3 separate regions of the Homo sapiens genome follow, and regions 2 and 3 are each linked to region 1. The links are contacts of gene promoters, found by promoter capture Hi-C in blood cells and fetal thymus (Javierre and others, 2016). All regions are on one chromosome and are shown on one strand. The core of a region is centred on a gene start or on the middle of the fragment in contact, and the rest is flanking DNA. Distances in the headings are between cores, read along the strand shown.

What was found. Contacts are between HindIII fragments. The CHiCAGO score rates a contact against its expected background, and 5 or more counts as called.
Region 2: a fragment that was not itself captured here is called in contact with the fragment with the promoter of ZDHHC9 in region 1 in 13 of 17 cell types (non-activated CD4 T cells, naive B cells, total B cells and 10 more); the score reaches 13.5 in non-activated CD4 T cells.
Region 3: a fragment that was not itself captured here is called in contact with the fragment with the promoter of ZDHHC9 in region 1 in 12 of 17 cell types (non-activated CD4 T cells, activated CD4 T cells, naive B cells and 9 more); the score reaches 18.3 in non-activated CD4 T cells.

The regions. Positions count from the first base shown.
Region 1 is chrX:129,842,086-129,845,208 of GRCh38, forward strand. ZDHHC9 (zDHHC palmitoyltransferase 9) reads right to left here and starts at 1,801. Exons shown (of 11, transcript NM_016032.4): 1 at 1,611-1,801; 2 at 1,174-1,241. The HindIII fragment of the contact is 4,624 bases long and covers 1-2,583 here.
Region 2 is chrX:129,710,555-129,713,810 of GRCh38, forward strand. No RefSeq gene overlaps it. Among named protein-coding and RNA genes, the nearest start is that of XPNPEP2, 27 kb to the right of the region's middle. The HindIII fragment of the contact is 863 bases long and covers 1,376-2,238 here.
Region 3 is chrX:129,680,016-129,683,007 of GRCh38, forward strand. No RefSeq gene overlaps it. Among named protein-coding and RNA genes, the nearest start is that of APLN, 27 kb to the left of the region's middle. The HindIII fragment of the contact is 3,654 bases long and covers 1-2,992 here.

The sequences.
Region 1 (3,123 bases), core at 551-3,050:
AAAAAGCAGAAAAAGAAAAAAAAATGAGGCAATAATAAGAAAATACAGTTCAACCCTCCTTTCCCAGAGACAGAAAGTTGAAAACTGACTGAAGGGGTGGGGACGGGGAAGTGGGAAAAGTTTATTTCCAATTCGTGTTTGTTCTCTAAAAGAAGGTATGATAAAAGGTTCTCAAAAAAGGAAAGGGGCTAGTATTTCTTCTTAAATAAGCCTCTATGCTTCCAATCTAATGCTGATGATCTGATCATCACAGAACCTTGGAACTAGAGAGGATTTTATAGGTGATCGTGCCAATTATTAATACTTTGTTTTGTAAATGAGTAAACTGAGGACCAGAGAGAGGAAATAACTTATCCAGGACCACACAGCAGCAATGCTGATACTGCTAACTTCCAGTCAAGGGCATGTTCCACTATGCCACAGTGTTCTTTCAACATCATTAAAAGGACTCTAAAAATAATAGTAGAGTTTCTGTCCTTATAAAACCTCCCTCCCTTCCTCCACTTCACCTTCTTTCTTCAATTAGCCACTCGAATATGAATCACAGCAGGGAACAAGTCACCCTCTGGCAGGGCCAGGAGGTTCTGGACGCTCTGTGCACATACGTGCATTGTATTTACACAAAACAGATTTCCCCTCATCAAACCCTCTGCAACTTCCTGAGTCCGGGAAATGAAACAATCTGGCTGGTCTAGCCTAACATTTGTGAGAATCTTAATGAAACCACATCAGAGACCTGTAGGTGAAAGGCTGACTTAAGCAGGAGAGATTCTGGAATGGTTGGTGACTGCTGATGGCTGGTTGGGGGGTGGGGAATGGCAGCAGCTAAGAAAAGTCACAAGGGCGCTTTCTGGGACATGTCCTAAGTACCATCTCTACTCAGCATCCTGAATTCCCAGGCCCAGAGTTTCTCAGCCTCTGCTACCCTTCTCCTCCGCTCAGGTGTGGTGTTGTGGCCTCTATTTACCGACACCACATGCCCCACGCTGGCAGGACTGAGGCGGAAGCCTGCAGCCCGACGGACGGAGGGAGAAACAGCCAACTCGCGGGCTGGAGAGGGCAAAGGTCCAAAAACAGCCTAGGAGCGGAGCAGGGAAACGAGAAGGTAGAAGGTTCGGGGAAGGGGAGGGGGGCCCAGAGGTGCAGAGAACCCGTCCTTTGTGTAAAACTAACCTGGAAGACAATCTCCTCCCGATAAACCGGCCCAGCGGGAGAAGGGAGACCAGGAAGGGGGAGCCGGCCTGGAAGAACAAAGATCAAAATCCGTCGGGAAGCAGCGACCGGCTCCCCAGCGGGGGGCCGGAGGCCGGAGGCCGGAGTCCGGGGCCGAGCCGCGGGCGCGGCCTCTCGAGGCCCGCCCTGACTCCGCCACGCCGCGGACCACCGCCCCAGGCAGGTTGGGACGCGCGCCACATCCACACGCACACGCAGCCACACGCTCGTACACACTCACACACGCCCCGCCACGTGTAGTCACCCCGGGCCAGGGGCTCGGCGGCTGCCGAGTTGAGAAGGGCGGTGCCGACGTCCCCGCCTCCAGGCGCCGCGGAAGGGGAGGCAGCCCACCCTGCAGCCGAGCCCAGGAGACCCCCGCCCCCACCCCTCGTTACCTGAACCACGGAGACCCAACTCGGCCGGCAGCTGACGGCAGGAAACGGACCGTCCCAGGGAATCACGTCGGCAGCCAAAGGTGGCAGCGACTTGTCCTCCCCGGGCCGGGAGGCTGTCTCCTCCTGACAAGGGGCCCCAGTGGTCGGGGCCCTAAACCAGCTGTGGCAACCGCCCACCACTGGCCAAATGGAACGCTCCTCACGTCACCAGGTCGCTCCAGTAGTTGCTCGCCCTCTATTGGCCGATCGGCCTCGGCGCCTCCGCCCCGGCCGCCCCTATCCCGAACTGCCATTGGTTTTGCCTAACGCCACTCGACGATGCCTCCGCCCACTCCTCCACCCATCTCCCTGCTGCATGCCCACCTGCCAAGCCACTGCCAGCCTCTCTTTGGGGTCTGAGCGCCAGTATGTGAAGTGTTGCCTTCTATTAATATAGTTACGCAGAGACGGAGGTTAAGGGTAGTGCCGATGGGACAGCAAAGGGTGGAACCAGCCTACACACACGCGCGCGCGCGCGCACACACACACACGCGCGCGCACACACACACACAGTGAGATGCTGAAGCAACACTAGCTCACAGATCCGGGTGCTCACCCCAAACTAGGTCTGCCATGGGCCTCTCCAGCCCTGCTTGCATTTTAAAATCAACCGCAACTTGAGATTTTACTCTTTATCGGCATAAAAACAAGTCATCTGCCTCCCAAGTCTCATTCAGTAGCCAGGGACCCCATATCTGTCCCAGTCACCCTAGCCTGCATCTCTAAGTCTTTCAAATCAAAACACACAAACAAGCATAAAAAGCATGTTGTAAAGGATAAATGTCCCCAAGAACGTATTATCATTTTGCAGCACCTAAAACAACTAATTGACATTAATGGAGTTAAAGAAACTCCACTGAGGACATAAATTCTTCCAGGTAGGTAATGAAGTAAAGATTGCCAAAAAGGTTGTAAATTTTTATTCGGTTTGGAAAGCTTATGATGATTAAGGGGAGAATCCAAGGCAGAATTCCCACCCACCAACCAGATTGATTTTTTCCTTCTGCCACCCAGCTCTGCATTACTGCCACCATGAGCCACTGCTACTGATCCGAGTGAGTTGCATGCATTAAAAGTTTGAGATTGGGCTGGGCGCGGTGGCTCACGCCTGTAATCCCAGCACTTTGGGAGGCCGAGGCAGGTGGATCACCTGAGGTCAGGAGTTCAAGACCAGCCTGGCCAACATGGCAAAACCCGTCTCTACTAGAAAGACAAAAGTTAGCGGGGAGCGGTGGGACTCGCCTGTAGTCCCAGCTACCAGGGAGGCTGAGGCAGGAGGATCACTTGAACCCAGGAGGTGAAGGTTGCAGTGAGCCAAGATCATGCCACTGCACTCCAGCCTGGGCGACAGAGAGAGACCCTGTCTTAAAAAAAAAAAAAAAAAAGTTTGAGATTGAAGGGGGGAAACAATTGAGAACCACAGTATTATACTATAGGGTGACTTTAAAAGACACTAGGTCTGTTTTCACCAGTA
Region 2 (3,256 bases), core at 557-3,056, 130 kb before region 1:
AAAAGTAAAAGATTTCCGTTATTCCTTGATACTTATCTCTCAAGGAGGTAGAGCTTAATTCCCACCCCCTTGACTGTGGGCTGAATTTAGTGACTTGCGTGTAATGAATATAATTTCTAAAGGGAAAAGCAGTAACTTTACAGTGGGGAAACGTGGCAGACACCACCTTGACCAAGTGGTCAAGGTTAACATCACCAGTAAGTCATGTCAATATCATATACCCCTGATTTGATGGGATGACAAGGGTACATCACCTCAATGGTATTCTTTCCAAAAATGCATATCCACAGACCAATCAAAAGAAAATATCAGACAAACCCAAATTGAGAGACATTCTACAAAACACATGACCAGTGCTTCTCAAAACTGTCCAGATCGTCAAAAAACAGAAAAACCTGAGAAACTGTCATAGCCAAGAGGAACCTAAGTAGACATGATCATGATTAATTGAAGTGGGATCCTGGAATAGAAAAAGGTGTGAATGGGAAAACTGGGAAAATCCGAATGAAGTCTGTAGTGTAGTAGTATTGTACCAAGGTTAATTTCTTATGTTTGAGAAATATATTGTGTTTATGTCAAGTGTTTATGAAAGGTTGGATGAAAGGTCTATGGGAACTCTCCATTTCACAACTCTTCTATAAATCTAAAATTATTTTAAAACAAAAAGTTTTTAAGAAAATACCAGGCCGGGCGCAGTGGCTTATGCCCGTAATCCCAACACTTTGGGAGGCTGAAGTGGGCAGATCGCCTGAGGTCAGGAGTTTGAGACCAGCCTGGCCAACATGGTGAAATCTCATCTCTACTAAAAATACAAACATTAGCCGAACATTGTGGTGCACGCCTATAATCCCAGTTACTCAGAGGTTGAGGTAGGATAATCACTTGATCCCAGAGACGGCGATTGCAGTGAGCCAAGATCGTGCCATTGCACTCCAGCCTGGGCAACAAGAGCAAAACTGCATCTCAACAAAAATAAAAGAAAATACTCAACCCAAAAGAGGGCAAAAATAGAGGAAAAAGTTGACAAAGAATAGAAAGGAAGAATAGAAAACAAATAGAGAAGTGGATGACCTAAATTCAACAATATCAATAACGACATCAAATGTGAAGGGACTCTAAGCAGTACAATTAAAAGTTAGAGATTGTCCTACTGCATTAAAAAGAAAATTGGACTCAACATTTGTTTCAAGCATATGTTTTAAGCATAAAGACACAGATGGGTTAAAACTAAAATGATAAAGATGCACCAGGAGTGGCTATGTTAATTTCAAAGTAAGCTTTAAGACACAGAATATTACCAGGAATAGACATGTTTAATGATAAAACAGTCATCAGGACAATATAACAATCTTAAATGTGTATGTCCCTAATAACAAGCTTCAAAATACATGAACTCAAAACTGACAGAATTGAAATAAATAGACAAATTTGCAACTATAGTTGGAGAGTTCAACAGTTCTTTCTCAGTAACTGATAAAATAAGTAAACAGTAAATCAGTAAGAGTATATAAGACTTAACATCTTGACAGGAGTGGTGGCTCACACTTGTAATCTCAGCACTTTGGGAGGCCGAAGCAGGCAGATCACTTGAGGTCAGAAGTTTGAGACCAGACTGGCCAATGTGGTAAAACCCCGTTTCCACTATAATAAAAATACAAAAATTAGCCAGGCATAGTGGCAGGCTCCTAAAATCCCAGCTACCAGAGAGGCTGAGGCAGGAGAATCACTTGAGCCTGGGAGGTGGATGTTGCAGTAAGCTGAGATAGCACCACTGAACTCCAGCCTGGGTGACAGAGTGAGACTCAGTCTCAAAACAAAACAAAAACAAACAAACAAACAAAAAAACCCACTTAAACAGCACCCTCAATCAACCTGACCTAATTGGCATGAATAGAACACTGCACCCAATATCTGCAGAATACACAGTCTTCTCAAGCACATATGGAACATTCTCCAAGATAGACCATAAGCTGGACCATCAAACAAGTCTCAATAAATTTAAAAGGACTAAAATCATGAATGTATGTTCTCTGATCTCAACAGAATTAAATTCAAAATCAATAACAAAAAAGATATCTATGGAATCCTTAAATATTTGGAAATTAATGACACACTTCAAAATAATCCATGAGTCAGAGAATAAATCAAAAGGGAAATTGAAAAGCATTTTTAAATGAATGAAAATGAAGACAGCATATAAAAATTTGCGGGATGTCACTAAAGCAGTATTTAGGGGGAAGCTTATGGCACTCGATACCTATATTAAGAAAGAAGAAAGGTCTTAGATCAATGACCTCAGCTTTGTTAAAAGAAAAACTCTAGACAAATTAAATTTAACAGAGTTAAATTCAGCAAAGACCAATTTGCAAATCAGGCAGCTTCCTAAACCGGAATAGATTTAGAGTGACTCCAGCACTGCCATGTGGTTGGAGAAAATTTATGTACAGAAAAAGGAAAGTGATGTACAGAAAACGGGAGTGTGGGCTGGGCAGAGTGGCTTACGCCTGTAATCCCAGAACCTTGGGAGATCAAGGCTGGTGGATCGCTTGAGCCCAGGAGCTCCAGACCAGCCTGAGCAACATGGCGAAACCCCATCTCTACCAAAAATAGAGAAATCAGCTGAGTGTGGTGACACACGCCCATAATCCTAGCTACTCAGGAAGCTGAGGAGGGAGGATTGATCGCTTGAGACCCAGGAGGCAGAGGTTGCAGTGAGCCAAGGTTGTGCCACTGCACTCCAGCCTGGGCGACAGAGTGAGACTCTGTCTCAAAAAGAAAAAAAAAAAAAGAAAAGAAAAAGAAAATGGAAGTGAGGTACAGAACCAGCTGGATTAATTACAGCTCAATGTTTGCCTTATTTGAACACAATTTGAACAGTTGGCCGCCTGTGATTTGCCAAAACTCGGTGACTCGTACAAGAGCAGGTTACAGTTTGTTTACACATCCAGTTAGGTTACAGTTCACTATGCACACAGAAACCTTTAGGCCGAACTTAAAACACGTAAGGAGGCAATTTCATGCTAAACTTAACAGTTTCAAGCTTAAAAAGCTAGAAAAGGAAGAATAAATTAAGCCCAAAATAAGTAGAAGAAAGGAAATAACGAAGATAAGAACAGGAATCAATGAACTAGCAAATAGATAGAGAAGATCAATGAAACCAAAAGTCAGTGCTTTGAAAATATCAATAAAAACAATAAACTTCTACCTAGGCAGTATTAGTTATATGATTGTATATATTTATCAAACTCATTGAGCT
Region 3 (2,992 bases), core at 351-2,850, 160 kb before region 1:
TTATTGAGTCACTGTATTGGGCACTGTGCTAGCTACTAAGGATTCAGCAGTGAGTCAGACAGACATGGGAAGGTGGTGACATGTTTAAGCAGGCAGGTGACATGATCAGATTTGCATTTTAAAATGATCAGTCTGGCTGCAGAGTGAACAGATTGGAGGGGGGCCAAGTGGCTGTGTACAGAAGCCCTTGCATTAAACCAGGGGAGAAATGGCAGTGTAGGCCAGGGTGGTGGCAGGGAGGAGCGGAGGAACTCAAGGGCTACTGAAGAGGTGAAATCAACAGGACTTGATAATAGATTTGACAGGGGGAAATGTGAGAGAGGGGGACTGTCAAGGATAACTGCTAAGTTTCAGATTTAGGCAACTGAATGAATGGGGGCACCGCAGAGAAAAAGAGGCCTGGAAGAGGACAGTATTTGGAAGGAAGGTCATATGTTTGGTCCAAGTGGAGCTGTCAAGTATGCAGTTGGATAAGCTGTCTGAAACTTAGAGGAGAGATCTGAGCTACAGATGTAAATTTGGGAGCCATGAGGATAGGGGGTGTGAATCAATCACCTGGATAAAGATTGTAGAATGGCAAAAACAAACAAACAAAAAAACAACTTAGGGTTTGAAGAACTCTATCATTTACTGGCTTGCTCTTCCAAGGTCCCTACTATTGGGCAATGCTAACCTTTCCGCTTCCTAATCACTGTCATTTTTTAAATCTCATTCATTAAAGACTTTTGGTAAAAGAGTTCATGGTTTTCTCCTCTTCCAGAAACCCTGACATTCTCATGGATGACTTCTACATTCATGCAGACATCCCTTCCAATGTCATGTTCTCTCTATTCTTTGACTTGCTCATCTTTACCTCCTGCACTCCTCCTCAAGTTACACTCTGGCACAGTCACACCTTGGGCCTTGACATTGCTTTCAGCTGTGCCACTTTAAAAATCACTCTTTCAAGCCTCCCCGCTCTGCTACCTTCTCATCTTCCAGTTTTCTTGTGTGATTATTCCTGTGAGAACTGTTCTTCAACTTTATTGGGATGGCCAGCCCACTGACCCTTCTACTTCTTCCCACTCTACCAGCTAGCTCTCTGCTTTCCTGACTTCATTATCTAGCCTAAAGCCTTCCGTTTGTCAATTCAATACCAAAGATTGGCAGAGGCTGCCATGCTCCCAACAGATCCTGGATAAGAGGTGGGGAGGCTGAGGTCTTCTGCGAGTGTGCAGAGGGTATTAAAGTTGTATGCTGTGGATTAAAATTTAGATGTGGGTGTTCTGGGTGACATAGGAAGAAGAACCTCTATTTTGTTTTGAAAGTGGGCGTACCTGCCTTTCATTCTTGCCTGGACAGGCCACAGCCCACCTCAAGCTACTAAAGTGCCTGGGGGCCAGAGGCAACATGTTCCTTAAAGAAGCAGCTGTGGGTCAGCTCAAGTGTTTGGGCAAGTGTTCAGATAAAGCTCCAGAATACAGGGTCTTGGAGCATAAGAACATGATATTAGCCTAGACTGTTGGAAGGGTAGGTGTCCCTGGTCATTTACCGTTAGTGACCTTAGATCTGATGTTTGAGTAGCACGGACTTGGGGCTAGGGCTGAAGCTGGGCCCACATTACAGCCAGAGGAAATAGCAGAGATAAAGCAAAGGAGGTGGGATGTGTACAGCACTCCCAGCCAACAGTGAACAATCTAATTGGCTGGTACAGGGTGTCTGGGAAGGAGTTTGAGATTCCATTGCCCATCCGCATCCTACACTTGGCCTTTTGCCATTTGAGAAACTAATTAATAGACACATATTGTGATAGAGAGTGAGATTGTTGGGGATTGGAGGGTCCCCACCCATTCCAGGAATGACTGGAAAGGGTCTGCACTGACCGACTTAGGCTCTTCTTGGAAGATGTCACGTATTCTAGGAGAATTGTGACCAATTGCAACCAGACACACTCTTGGTCCTCTTGGTCCTTTTTTGTGTCATGGACCCTTTAGCAATCTGTTGAAGCCTTTGGTCCCCTTTTCAGAATAATATTTTTAGATGCATAAAATACAAAGGATTTAAATGGAAACCAAGTATAGTGAAATATAGCTATCAACTTTTTTTTTTTTTTTGAGATGGGGTCTCACTCTGTCTCCCAGGCTGGAGTGCTGTGGCACAATCATAGCTCACTGTAACCTCAAACTCCTGGGCTCAAGTGATCCTCTCACCTAGGCCTCCCAAAGTGCTGGGATTGTAGGCATGAGCCACTGCACCCGGTCTCCAACATATTTTTTAAAATTTGTGATGTCTGTGCTTCATTATTAGCACATTATATAACTAAATCTAGCTGTGAGTCTTATAACTATCACAATTTCAAAGCAATGATGAACATATTGCTATTTCAAGAGATGTGCTTCATTCTAATGTGATATGAAAATATGTGTAATTTCTGCTGGTGGCCAAGTCACAGGTCCTCTAATACTATGGTGGTTTATCACCTGCATTCATGATTGAAGGAAATGCTAAAATATAGTTAAAAGATAGCAGAAACAAAGATGTAGTTTTCCCCATCTAAGTTCATGAATCCTCTGAATTCCAGCCACAGACTACTTAGAGGAACAGGGACCCCAAGTTAAAGATCCACATAGCTTCCTGGTGTTCCTTTGTGGAAATTCCCTTTATCTTAGTCCATTGGGGCTGCTATAACAAAGGCCTGCAGACTGGTTGGCTTATAAACAGTAGACATTTATTTCTTACAGTTCTGGAGGCTGGGAAGTCGAAGATCAAGGCACTAGCAGATTTGGTGTCCAACAAGGGCCCAGTTCCTTCGTAGATGGCACCTCCTAGCTGTATCCTCACAAGGTGGAAGGGCCAAGGGTACTCTCTTGGGCCTCTTTTATAAGGTTACTAATACCATTCATGAGGGCTCTGCCCCCATGACCTAATCACCTTCCGAAGGCCCAGCCTCCTAATATCATCATGTTAGGGGTTAGGATATCAACATATGAATTTGGGAGGACACAAAAACTCA